Regions from separate parts of the Homo sapiens genome. Here regions 1 and 3 are each linked to region 2. The links are contacts of gene promoters, found by promoter capture Hi-C in human tissues and cell types (Jung and others, 2019). All regions are on one chromosome and are shown on one strand. Each heading gives the region's core, a stretch centred on a gene start or on the middle of the fragment in contact. The rest is flanking DNA. Distances are from core to core; before and after follow the strand shown.

The links. The method cuts DNA at HindIII sites, captures the fragments that hold promoters and counts their contacts. A contact is called where the count stands out against the background at its distance.
Region 1: a fragment that was not itself captured here is called in contact with the fragment with the promoter of SLCO4C1 in region 2 in 2 of the 25 tissues and cell types used here (neural progenitor cells and thymus).
Region 3: a fragment that was not itself captured here is called in contact with the fragment with the promoter of SLCO4C1 in region 2 in 1 of the 25 tissues and cell types used here (thymus).

What each region holds. Positions count from the first base shown.
Region 1 is chr5:102,429,744-102,433,863 of GRCh38, reverse strand. All of the region lies in intron 7 of SLCO6A1 (solute carrier organic anion transporter family member 6A1), which reads left to right. Among named protein-coding and RNA genes, the nearest start is that of SLCO6A1, 67 kb to the left of the region's middle. The HindIII fragment of the contact is 4,050 bases long and covers 1-3,312 here.
Region 2 is chr5:102,293,323-102,297,854 of GRCh38, reverse strand. It overlaps SLCO4C1 (solute carrier organic anion transporter family member 4C1), which reads left to right and starts at 1,571. Exons shown (of 13, transcript NM_180991.5): 1 at 1,571-1,947. The coding sequence starts at 1,593. RefSeq lists an enhancer at 1,606-1,805. The HindIII fragment of the contact is 20,431 bases long and covers 1-2,170 here.
Region 3 is chr5:102,548,974-102,553,173 of GRCh38, reverse strand. No RefSeq gene overlaps it. Among named protein-coding and RNA genes, the nearest start is that of LINC00492, 30 kb to the left of the region's middle. The HindIII fragment of the contact is 5,071 bases long and covers 1-4,200 here.

The sequences.
Region 1 (4,120 bases), core at 38-2,537, 140 kb before region 2:
CTTTTTTCCTTCAAAAAACCTCACTAGCTCCCCCATGGAGGCTAGCACCCCAGTACCTGCCAGCACCCTGCCACAGCCAAAAAGCATGCACTCTGCCATGCTGCCGCTGCTGCTGTTGCTGGTATGTGCAAACAGGATGGATCCCATTGCCACTGCCCTACAAAGTGCTTTGGCTGCCACCGTCCATTGGAGTGTTGTGACCAGCAGTCCAGGAGCACCTTGACCCCTCCAGCACAGCATGTTTCTACCTTGAGGAGCCAGAGAACAAAGCCAGTGCCCAATACTGGTCCCCAGGAGTTAGGCCACACAGTCCAGGAGTCCTGAGCTGAGCCTTTGCCTTCTAAAATCTTCCAGAAACAAAGCCAGTTGAATGAACCCACCTTATACAACAAGCAAACCCTCAAGGTCATCAAATAGGATAAAAGAAAAAAAAATCCAAAGGACAGGAACTTCAAGGATTAAAGGAGCATCAGCCCACAAAGATAAAAAAGCAGCACGAGAACTCTGACAATTCAAAAGGCCATAAGGTCTTCTTTCCTTCAAACAACCTCACTAGTTCTCCAGCAAGGGTCCTTAACCAGTCTTAGATGGCTGAAGTGACTGAAATAGAATTCAGAATATGGATAGGAACAAAAATCAAGATTCAGGGGAACGTTGAAACTCATTCTAAGGAAGCTAGGAATCACAAAGTATACGGGATCTGGAAGATAAAGTAGCCAGTATAGAAAAGAACATAACTGACTTGATAGAGATAAAAACACACTATGAGAATTTCATAATGCAATCACAAGTATTAACAGCAGGATAGATCAAGCTGAAGAAATAATCTCAGAGCTTGAAGATTGGGTTTCTGAAACAAGACAGAAAGAAAACATGAAAGAGAAAAGAATAAAAAGGAACAAACAAAATGAACAAAAATATGCAATTATGTAAAGAGACCAAATCTACAATTCACTATCATCCCTGAAAGAGATAGGGAGGATGGAAGCAACTTAGAAAACATATTTCAGGATATCATCTATGAAAACTTTCACAACCTATGTAGAGAGGACAACATTCAAATTTAGAAAATGCAGGAAACTCTCACAAAGTGCTTCACAAAAACATCATCCCTAAGACATAATCATAGGATTCTCCAACTTCAAAATGAAAAAACAATGTCAAAGGCAGCTAGAGAGAAAGGACAGGCCATCTACAAAGGAAAGCTTATTAGAAGACCTATCAGCAGGAACCCTACAAGCTAGACCTCTTAGCAGAAACAGCAGACTTCTCAGCAGAAACCCTACAAGCCAGAAGAGACTGGGAGCCTATATTCAACATTCTAAAAGAAAAGAAATTCCAATCAAATTCATAGCCAGCCAAACTAAGCTTCATAAGTGAAGTAGAAATAAAATCATTTTCAAACAAGAAAATTATGAGGGAATTTTTTACCACCAGACCTGCCTTACAAGAGCTCCTGAAAGAAGCACTAAATATGGAAAGGAAAGACCATTACCAGCCACTACAAAAATGCACTTAAGTATGCAAACCATTGACACTATAAAGCAATCACACAAACAAGTCAGCATAATAAACAGCTAACAACATGATGACAGGATCAAATCCACATATAGCAATAGTAACCTTGAATGTAAATGGGTTAAATGCCCCAATGAAAAGACAGAGTGGCAAGCTGAATAGAAAAGCAAGACCGAATGATATGCTGTCTTCAAGAAATGTGTCTCACATACAATGACACCAATAGACTCAAAAATAGATGAAGAAAAATCTACCAAGCGAATGGAAACTGAAGGGGAAAATGAATGAAAAACTGAAGGGGTTGCAATTCTAATTTCAGACTTTAAATAAACAAATATTGTAAAAAACAAAGAGGGGCTTTACATAATGGTGAAAGGTTCAATTCAACAAGAAGACCTAACTATCCTAAATATATCTGCATTCAACACAGAAACAACCAGATTTATAAATTAAATTCTTAGAGACCTTCAAAGAGCCTTAGACCCCCACCAATTAATAGTGGAAGACTTCAACACCTCACCGAAAGTGTTAGAAAGGTTGTCAAGGCAGAAAATTAACAAAGATGTTCAGGACCTGAACTCAATGCTAGACCAAATAGACCTGAGAGGCATCAACAGACCTCTTCACCAAAAAAACAACAGAATATACATTCTTCTCATTGCCACATGGCACATACTCTAAAATCAACCACAAAATCAGATATATAACAATCCTCAGAAAATGTAAAAGAACTGAAATCATACCAACCACTCTCTTGGACCCCAGCACAATAAAAATAGAAATCAAGACTAATTAAATTGCTCAGAACCATACAATTAAGTGGAAATTAAATGACCCACCCTGAATGACTTTTGGGTAAGTAATGAAATTAAGACAGAATGAGAACAGAGATACAAAACACCAGAATCTCTGGGATATAGCTAAGGCAGTATGAAGAGGGAAATGTATAGCACCACATGCTCACATCAAAAAGTTAGAAAAACCCCAATTTAAAAACTAACATCACAACAAAAAGAACTAGAGAAGCAACAGCAAACCAATTCTAAAGCTAGAGGAGGAAAAGAAATAACCAAAATCAGAGCTGAACTGAAGGGGATGGAGACACAAAAAAACATTCAAAGGAACAATGAATCCAAGAGTTGGTTTTTTGAAAAATTAATAAGAGAGAAGATCCAAATAAACACAATTAGAAATGATAAGGAGGATATTACCACTGACCCCACAGAAACACAAATAACAATCAGAGACTACTATGAGCACCTTTACAAACATGAACTAGAAAATCTAGAAAAAATGAATAAATTCCTGGACACATAAAGCCTCTCAAGACTGATCTAGGAAGAAATTAAATTCCTGAACAGACTAATAATGAGCTCCAAAACTGAAATAGCAATAAATAGCCTACAAACCAAAAAAAGCCCAGGATTAGATGGATTCACAGTCAAACTCTACCAAATGTACAAAGAAGAGCTGGTGTCATTACTACTAAAACTATTCCAACAAATTGAGGAGGGGAGACTCCTGCCCATCTCATTCTATGAGGCCAGAATCATCCTGATACCAAAACCTGGAAGAGACCAACAAAAAAACAAAAATTCAGGCCAATATCCTTGATGGACATACATGCAAAAATCTTCAATACATACTAGCAAATAAATCCAGCAGTACATCAAAAGCTAATCCACCATGATCAAGTAGGTTTTATCCCTGTAATGCAAGATTGGTTAAACATACACACGTCAATAAACATGATTTATCACATAAATAGAACTAAAGTGAAAACCACATGATCATCTGAATAGATGAAGAAATGACTTTCAATAAAATTCAACATCCCTTCATGTTAAAAACTCTCAACAAACTAGGTACTGAAGGAACATACCTAAAAATAATAAGAGCCATCTATGACAAACCCACAGCCAACATTATACTGAATGGGGAAAAGCTGGAAGCATTCCCCTTGAAAACCAGAACAAGGATGCCCCCTCTCACCATTCCTATTCAACATAATATTAGAAGTCCAGCCCAGAACAATCAGACAAGAGAAAGAAATGAAGGGCATCTACATAAAAAGAGAGGAAGCCAAACTATCCCTGTTTGCAAACAACATGATTCTATATCTAGAAAACCCCATAGTCTTGGCCCAAAAGCTCCTTAAGCTGAGAAACAGCCATCAGCAAAGTTTCTGGATACAAAATCAACATACAAAAATCAATAATATTTCTATACACCAACAACAGCCAGCTGAGAGCCAAATTAGAAATGCAATTCTATTCACAGTTTCCACAAAAAGATTTAAATACCTAGGAATGCAGCTAACCCGGGAATTTACAGATCTTTACAATAAATTACAAAACACTGCTCAAAGAAATAAGAGATGACACAAACAAATGGGAAAACACTCCATGCTTATGAATAGGAAGAATCAATATCTTTAAAATGGCCACACTGCCCAAAGCAGTTTACAGATTCAGTGCTATTCCTATTAAACTACCAATGCAATTCTTCACAGAACTAGATAAAAACTATTTTAAAATTCATATGGATCCAAAAAAGAGCTCGAATAGCCAAGACAATCCTAAGCAAAAAGAACAAAGCTGGA
Region 2 (4,532 bases), core at 322-2,821:
TGTTAAGTGAAAGAATGAATGACTAAATTGTACCTACCATGACACAATGGTGTTAAGCTCTTCGAAGTGTTTTTCTTATTTATTCCACAGTTAGACATGTATTATTATTATTATTATTATTATTAAGAGACAGAGTTTCACTCTTTCACCCAGACTGGATTGAAGTGGCACAATCTCGGTTCACTGTACCCTCCACCTTCCGAGTTCAAATGATTCTCCTGCCTCAGCCTCCCAAGTAGCTGGGATTACAGGCCTGCACCACCACACCTGGCTAATTTTTGTATTTTTAGTAAAGACAGTGTTTCACCATGTTGGCCAGGCTAATCTTGAACTCCTGACCTCAGGTAATCCACCCGCCTCAGCCTCCCAAAGTGCTAGGATTACAGGCGTGAGCCACCGCGCCTGGCCCGGTAGAAATTATTTACATGATTGTCATCACTGTATATCTTACATATGCAATATACAGCAGAGAGACAATTTCTGGTCCTTCAGTTTCGGAGAAGGAAAAGCAAAGCAGTGGTTATGCTGTGATGTTCATCCTGGTGGTGATGGGGGTGGGGTGGGGTGGATTTCTTTTTCTAAGGAGGACTGAGGCAGGAAAATAGGGTCTGGAGGCAGGAAACATAAGGCCTATTCACACTTCAGCTGTAACAGGAAATATCCTCTCCATAGGGCGTAGGCCATAAATGACTTTGTAACTTTACTTCATCTTCTCCCTTTACATAGGGCATACCCAAAGTAACCAATGGAATCCTCTAGGGGGTATTTAAACTCCCCAAAATTCTGTAACCGGGCCTTTGAGCCCCTATGCTCGCCCGTTCCCACACTGTGGAGTGTACTTTCATTTTCAATAAACCCCTTCATTCCTTCCTTGCTTTGTTTGTGCGTTTTCTTCAATTCTTTCTTCAAGATGCCAAGAACCTGGACACCTTCTACCAGTAACAGGATGACAGGCAAGAGTCTTATCAAGATGCTCATGAACCAAAGTATACCTCTGACGTCTTGATTCTTGGAGTCCAAGCCTAGACTGCTTTGGTAAGCAGCAAAGGAAGAAAACGCAAGATAGTTTCCTGAACAATCTCCTGATGCAACTGTTTACAGGTTTCATGTCAGCACCCAAGGGGAGCTTATGGCCAGAGACTCCCACAGTCTCTGTGTGTTCCCAGTGCTTGGGCTCAAGGGAGGCGCGCTGCGGGCTGAAGGCTCAGGTCAGAACCGCAGGGGCTTGGGCGGAGGCGGACTCCGGTCGAAGGCTGTGGGGTGAGAACTCTCGCCCCCTCTACTCGGCCGCCGCCGGGTGGCACGCCCACGCCGCGCCTTCCGGTTGGTCCTTGAGGCGACGGGTGAGGCACAGCTGAGCGCCAAAGCCACAGGCTGGGGCGCTAACGCCCCCGCTCAGCGCTCTGCGCTCCAGACAGCTGCGAGCTGGAGTAGGAAGGTTCAGGCGGTGGCGGAGAGTGCGCTGGAGGCTGGAGGGCCAGGAGGCGGGAAGCTTCCCGCACGGGGGCGCTGTCACCTGCCTGTGGGAGGAGCCAGAGAGGGACCTGGCTCTGCTGCTCTGAAGCACCGGAGTCGGGAGAACCCATCCAGACATGAAGAGCGCCAAAGGTATTGAGAACTTGGCTTTTGTCCCCTCCAGCCCAGACATCCTGCGCCGCTTGTCTGCGTCGCCCTCCCAAATCGAAGTCTCTGCCTTGTCCTCTGACCCCCAAAGAGAGAATTCTCAGCCACAGGAGCTTCAGAAGCCCCAGGAGCCCCAGAAGTCACCAGAGCCATCTCTGCCTTCAGCCCCTCCCAATGTCTCCGAAGAGAAGCTCCGGTCACTGTCGCTGTCCGAGTTTGAGGAGGGGTCTTACGGCTGGAGGAACTTCCATCCTCAATGTCTCCAGCGCTGCAACACACCTGGAGGCTTTCTGCTTCACTACTGCCTCTTGGCCGTCACGCAAGGTAAAGTCCAGCGCCCGCTTGAGGCTCGGGCCAGTGGAGAGCGAGGTGGGCACGGCGAGCCAGCCGGGGGAGAGGGCAGGTGCGCGGGGTCCGTGGGACGGTGGACGCGCCCTGCAAGGTGGCCCCGGGTTTGGAACTTGCTTGCGCTCTCACCAAGGTCAACCTACCGGCCCCCAGCCAGCCTTCCAAAGTTCAGCTTCTCCTTTATCACTACAGTTCAAACTTGCAATACAAGCCTTTTTCTCTTTTGTGTTTTACCTCAGTTTAGCGGATTCAAGACTTACAGGGAAGATTACAAGAACCTTCCTTTGGGAAAGGTATACCCTGGGGAGTTTATTTTACATTATAAAGACAAAAATTTACCTAGGCACTCTTTAAAGGTATTTTACTTTTACATTTGTTTCATTGCCTCAGGGGAAGGAGTAATACGTTTGCAGGTGGGAGTGGGATGCCTTACAAGGAAGAAAGCTATGAAAAATCTATCGTATAAATTAGATACAGACATTCATGTTTTGTGAGTGTATTTAGTTTGAGAGTATGTGGTCACCAGAGGAGCCCAGTGAGTAAATTAGCAAAGGCTCCCGACGTTGTTGAGCCTTAATCTTCATTGTGTTACATTAGTTATCCAGCATCTGTTTTGTTCTAGGATCTCTTTTAGGTTCTCTTGGGAGTTACAGATTCAGTTCAGATTTATACCCTCAGGGGCTTGCAATCTAAGCTCAGTTTGGAGGAGTGATATCCTGGAGGGAGAACAGCTCCCTTGAAAGAAGGCACAGGGAAGGTTAAAGCTGCTTCTGGTGTGTTCAATACAGAGGTTGAAGGAAAATAGGAAGTTAACCTGAGTTGACTTTGAGGAAGGGTGGAGAAGAGGTGGAGAGGAGTCAAGAAGGACATGCCGAAGCTTAGCTGAATTGGAATGTAGATATTTTTTGGTCACTTGAGTCATAGTCCGAGAATATTTTCTGTATAATCAGTCAAGGATTAATTGGAAGAAATACAACCTTAGAAATATAGATTTTAGAGGGTTGGAAACAGCTCATTTTTTAAGTTAATAGAAAACTAAGTCAAAGCCTAAGTATACTTTTTGTTCTTATTCTTCCTCTTCAAGGAACCCAGGGCCCCTTGCTTTGCGCATTAGATGCTAAGTAACCATTTATTGATTGCAAGTCCGCTGCAGCTCTTCTACTGAAGGTAGATTTGTGTTGAAGAATTATTTCCCTGTCCACTTTTCTTGTCCCTACCAAAGTTCCCCTCCATTAATGTCTTGATCATAGTTTTACAAAATTGGTAATTGTGAAGCATCTCAGTGTCAAAGGAATGCGAAGATAAAAAAGTTGGACACAAGTAAAAAATGTCTTATCTTGTGTATTATCTTAAAATTCCTCTGAAATTTCTATATTATTCCAAAATATAACATTTTATATTTAATATAAAATATTGCCTAAAATTGTTATCAAATGTAATTGTCACTCCTAGAAAATTTGTCAGGTTTAGTCTGGAGCAGCATCTACCCAGAGGTCCCCAATTTAAGAAGCTTAATCTGAGATAATAGTGACCCAATAGGCTGGGCATGGTGGCTCACGCCTGTAATCCCAGCACTTTGGGAGGCCGAGGCGGGCGGATCAGTTGAGGTCAGAACTTGGATACCAGCCTGGCCAACATGGTGAAACCCGTCTCTACTAAAAATACAAAAAATTATGGCCGGGCGCCGTGGCTCACGCCTGTAATTGCAGCACTTTGGGAGGCTGAGGCAGGCAGATCAACTGAGGTCAGGAGTTCGAGACCAGCCTGGCCAACACGGTGAAACCCCGTCTCTACCAAAAATACAAAAACTAGTTGGGCATTGTGGCGCATGCCTGCAATCCCAGCTACTTGGAGGGCTGAGGTGGGAAAAACACTTGAACCCAGGAGGCGGAGTTTGAAGTGGACCGAGATCGTGTCATTGCACTCCGGCCTAGGCAACAGAGGGAAACTCTGTCTCAAAACAAAACAAAACACCACAAAAATTAGCCGGGTGCGGTGGCACACGCCTGTAGTCCCAGCTATTCAGGAGGCTGAGGCACGAGAATGGCTGGAACCCGGGAGGTGGAGGTTGCAGTGAGCCGAGATGGCGCCACTGCACTCCAGCCTGGTGACAGAGCGAGGCAAGGTCTCAAAAAAAAGTATAATAATAAAAAGTGTGACCCAATAAATTACTAGTTTACGTTTCAGTTTAAGTTTGAATGCCTGAAAACTTTATTGCCATGTTTCTCAAACATGATCCTTAAGATCATTTCCATGGTATATTTAAATATACATTTAATTGGAAAGAAAAACAAAATTTCTCGAATGAGTTTATTTAACCCAGCATTTCTCAAAGACAAACAGGGATTCTCTAAGTACTTAATTTTCTAATGTGCTTCCTATTGTCATTCATTTACAACAGAGAGATGTAGTATGGAGCGTTTCCTGATTTTTTTGTTTTTGTTTTTTTAAGTAGTGTTCTTGGAACTTGTATAGCATAGAATTCACTTTAAGAGTCATTGGATTAATGTGCTATCCTTCCTGAGGAGTTTACAAATTTTTTTTTCAAAGAGAAGTTTTAC
Region 3 (4,200 bases), core at 939-3,438, 250 kb before region 2:
AAATAAAACATACAGTTCACGTCCTACAAATAAAGTTTACATATGTTTAGTTATTATGTTGTCTTTTAGGTTCCTTTTAAATGACCAAGAGGGTTATATGTAACAAAAACATAATTGCTGCAATGAATAAAATTGAGGCTAAATCACTGGGTATATAGATTATCATTTTCTTAGAATAAATTTTAGAAACAGAGTTGATGCAACCAAAATATGCATATTTTAAAGCAGTAAATCCAAATGGATAAAACATACTCCTGAGAATTGTAATCATTTCATGTTCTCTCTGGATTGTGTGAGATAGCCATCTCTCTGGACAAAGTGTGGGCATTTTTTGATCATGTTAATTTAAATTTGGACAATATATAAAAAGGCAAATAACAGAAAACTGACTGGCCATATGCAGAAAACAGAAACCGGACCCCTTTTTTACACCATATACAAAAATTAACTCAAGATGGATTAAAGACTTAAAAATAAGACCTAAAACCATAAAAACCCCAGAAGAAAACCTAAGCAATACCATTCAGGACATAGGCATGAGCAAAGCCTTCATGACTAAAACACCAAAAGCAATGGCAACAAAAGCCAAAATTGACAAATTAGATCTAAGTAAACTAAAGAGCTTCTCCACAGCAGAAGAAACTATCATCAGAGTGAACAGGCAACCTACAGAATGGGAGAAAATTTGTGCAATCTATCCATCTGACAAAGGGCTAATATCCAGAATCTACAAAGAACTTAAACACATTTACAAGAAAAAAAACAACCCCATAAAAAAGTGGGCGAAAGATATAAACAGACAGTTCTCAAAAGAAGACATTCATGCGGCCAACATATATATGAAAAAAGCTCATCATCACTGGTCATTACAGAAATGCAAATCTAAACTACGATAAGATACCATCTCATGCCAGTTAAAATGGTGATCATTAAAAAGTCAGAAAACAACAGATGCTGGAGAGAATGTGGAGAAATAGCAATGCTTTTACACTGTCGGTGGGAGTGTACATTAGTTCAGCCATTGTGGAAGACAGTGTGGCAATTCCTCAGGGATCTAGAACTGGAAATACCATTTAACCCAGCAATCCCATTACTGGGTACATACCTAAGGGATTATAAATCATTCTACTATAAAGACACATGGACACATATGTTTACTGCAGTACTGTTCACAATACCAAAGACTTGGAACCATCTCAAATGTGCATCAATGATAGACTGGATAAAAGAAATATGGAACATATACACCATGGAATACTATGCAGCCATAAAAGAGGATGAGTTCATGTCCTTTGCAGGGGCATGGATGAAACTGGAAACCATCATTCTCAGCAAACTAACACAAGAACAGAAAACCAAACACTGCATGTTCTCACTCATAAGTGGGAGTTGAACAATGAGAACACATGGACACAGGGAGGGGAACATCAAACACCAGGGCCTGTTAGGGCGTGGGGCCTAGGGGAAGGATAGCACTAGGAGAAATACTTAATGTAGATGACAGGTTAATGGGTGCAGCAAACCACCACGGCACGTGTATACCTATGTAACAAACCTGCGCGTTCTGCACATGTATCCAAGAACTTAAAGTATAATTTAAAAAATTTTTTTAAAAAAGAAGAGAACAGAAAAAAAGATGTTTTACCATTGTTAATAATATAGTATACCTCAAGGAAAAGAGATGTATTGAAGAGAATATTCAATGCACTCAGAGTATGTGCTAATGACTATAAAATGTTCATAAGAAGCTAAAGGAGAAAAATCACTCATTTTAATGGATTTGCTATATTGCATCTACATGGAAAGAGAGAGTGGTACTCCTTACTTTGTTTTATGTTAATACATGAGTACCCTTTAATGAATGAAATAGCCTCTGCTAAATATCATAAGCATAAAATATTGAAAATAGAGATATTTGCTGTTTGCTTCAGAGCTATGAAAATGACGTTTCATTACTGGCTATTATCTGGTTTTATATGATAGAAGTAAACCAAATATGAGACTATAAATACTGAATTGTGTTAATGTGAAGAGAATAGAAAAATTGGTGCTTTTAATTCACAGATGTGCAGCTCTGTTAAAGATTGCATTTTATTTTTAGGTGGCTTATTATTCAGAGCTTAATGCTGAAAACTAGAAAATCTTTCTAGTTATCTTAGTTTGGCAAAAATCAACACTTAACTCACTTTTCAATTCTTCTTCCATTGAAATAAGTATGGGAGTTGTGTGATGTGGGGCAGTAAAAAGAATGTGGGGATTTGGAATCAGAAAAACTTGGGTACAAATTTTGAACCTGGCATTTATTAAATGTGTAAATTTGATCAATCTTGTATGTAAAATAGCACATTAATACATATTGATTTACCAAGATTTGTTTGTAAATCAGAGTAGGTAAAAGCTTATGATTCTTAAGTGATGCAAAATTGACTATATTAATCAAGGTAGGGTAAGTGATATAAATAGAAAATCCTAAAATTTCAGTTACTTAATACAACAAAAGCTTGTGATATGATTTAACTCTGTGTCCCTACCCAAATCTCATCTCAAATTATGATCCCCATAATCTCCACGTGTCAAGGGAGGGACCAGGTGGGAAGTGGCTGGATCATGGTGGTGGCTTTTCCCATGCTGTTCTTGTGATGGTGAGTGAGTTATCATGAGATCTGATGGTTTTATAAAGCGGTTTTCTCTGCTCTTGCTTGCTTTCTCTTGCCTGCCACCATGTAAGATGTGCCTGCTTCTCCTTCTGCCATGATTGTAAGTTTCCTGAGGCCTCCCCAGCCATGCAGAACTGTGAGTCAATTAAACCTCTTCTCTTTATAAATTACCCAGTCCCAGGTAGTTCTTATAGCAGTGTGAAAATGGACTAATACAGCTTATTTCTTGATTATGTGATGGATGTAAATCACTAGGTTGAGGGAGGCATCTGTTGGCTCTGTCATCCCCTACATCAGAGTCTTCTGGTAGCTGGAAGACACAAAGCAAAGAAAACATGGAATTAGGTGGGAGGTTTTAGTGAGCCAAGCCTGAATGTTGCATATATCACATGCATTTATCTTCCATCAGCCAAATTCAGTCACATGGCCATACAAATAGACTAGCTGTGTACTCAATAAAAAGATGAAATAATTTCAGTCTCTGCTCATTCACTAAGTGACCTGAGCAAATTTAACTGATGTAAGTAATCTAAGGTGATTGACCTAGGCCAGTTTAGCTATTCACAAATATTAGTCTCTCTCTCTCTCTCTCTCTCCTTTCTTTCCTTTCTTTTTGGCAGAGTCTCACTGTCACCCAGGCTGGCATGATCTCAGCTCACTGCAACCTCTGCCTCCCAGGTTCAAGCAATCCTCCCACCTCAGTCTCCCTAGTAGCTGGGATTACAGGTGCTTGCCACCACGCCCAGCTAATTTTTCTATTTTTAGTATAGTCGGGATTTCACCACGTTGGCCAGGATGGTCTCGAACTCCTGGCCTCAGGTGATCCACCAGCCTCAGATTCCCAAAGTGCTGGGATTACAGGTGTGAGCCACCACACCTGGCCAGTTTTCTTAAAACTAGATATTAGTAGTCTATAATCACAGTGATTATAAGTGAGAACACGTGGTATTGGTTTTCTGTTCCTATGTGAATTAGCTTAGGATGATGGCCTGCTAAGCTGGAGAGCTACATCCATGTTGCCGCAAAGGACATGATTTAGCATTTTGTATGGCTGCATAGTATTCCATTTTATGTATGTATCACATGTTTTTTATCTAATCCACTGTTGATGGGCACCTAGGTTGATTTACTGGAGTTAATTCTTAAGAGATGTATTTCTGTATCTTCTGGTTTTAATATTCTGGAGACTTGATTCAGATAAAGATTTGCTAGATTGTATTTATTTCTTTAACTCCTTCTACTTACCCCAAAATTTCAAGTAATTAATATCAGGTATAAGATTATGTTACATACTGCTTTTTGAAAGCACTAAGCTTGTCATTAATTTTCTTACTTTTTCTTCGTAAAGAAAGAATATATGAAAAAGAATCATAAATTCAACAACTATTTATTGAGTGCCTACTGTGTGGTAGGAATTGCTTTATATGCTGGGAAGTTAGCAATGAGCAAGAGTGAGAAGAATTTTACTTTCATGGGGCTCACTTTCTACTGATAGGAGGTGGAAAAGGAACAACATATAAGTGAGCAGGCATGCACATAGACA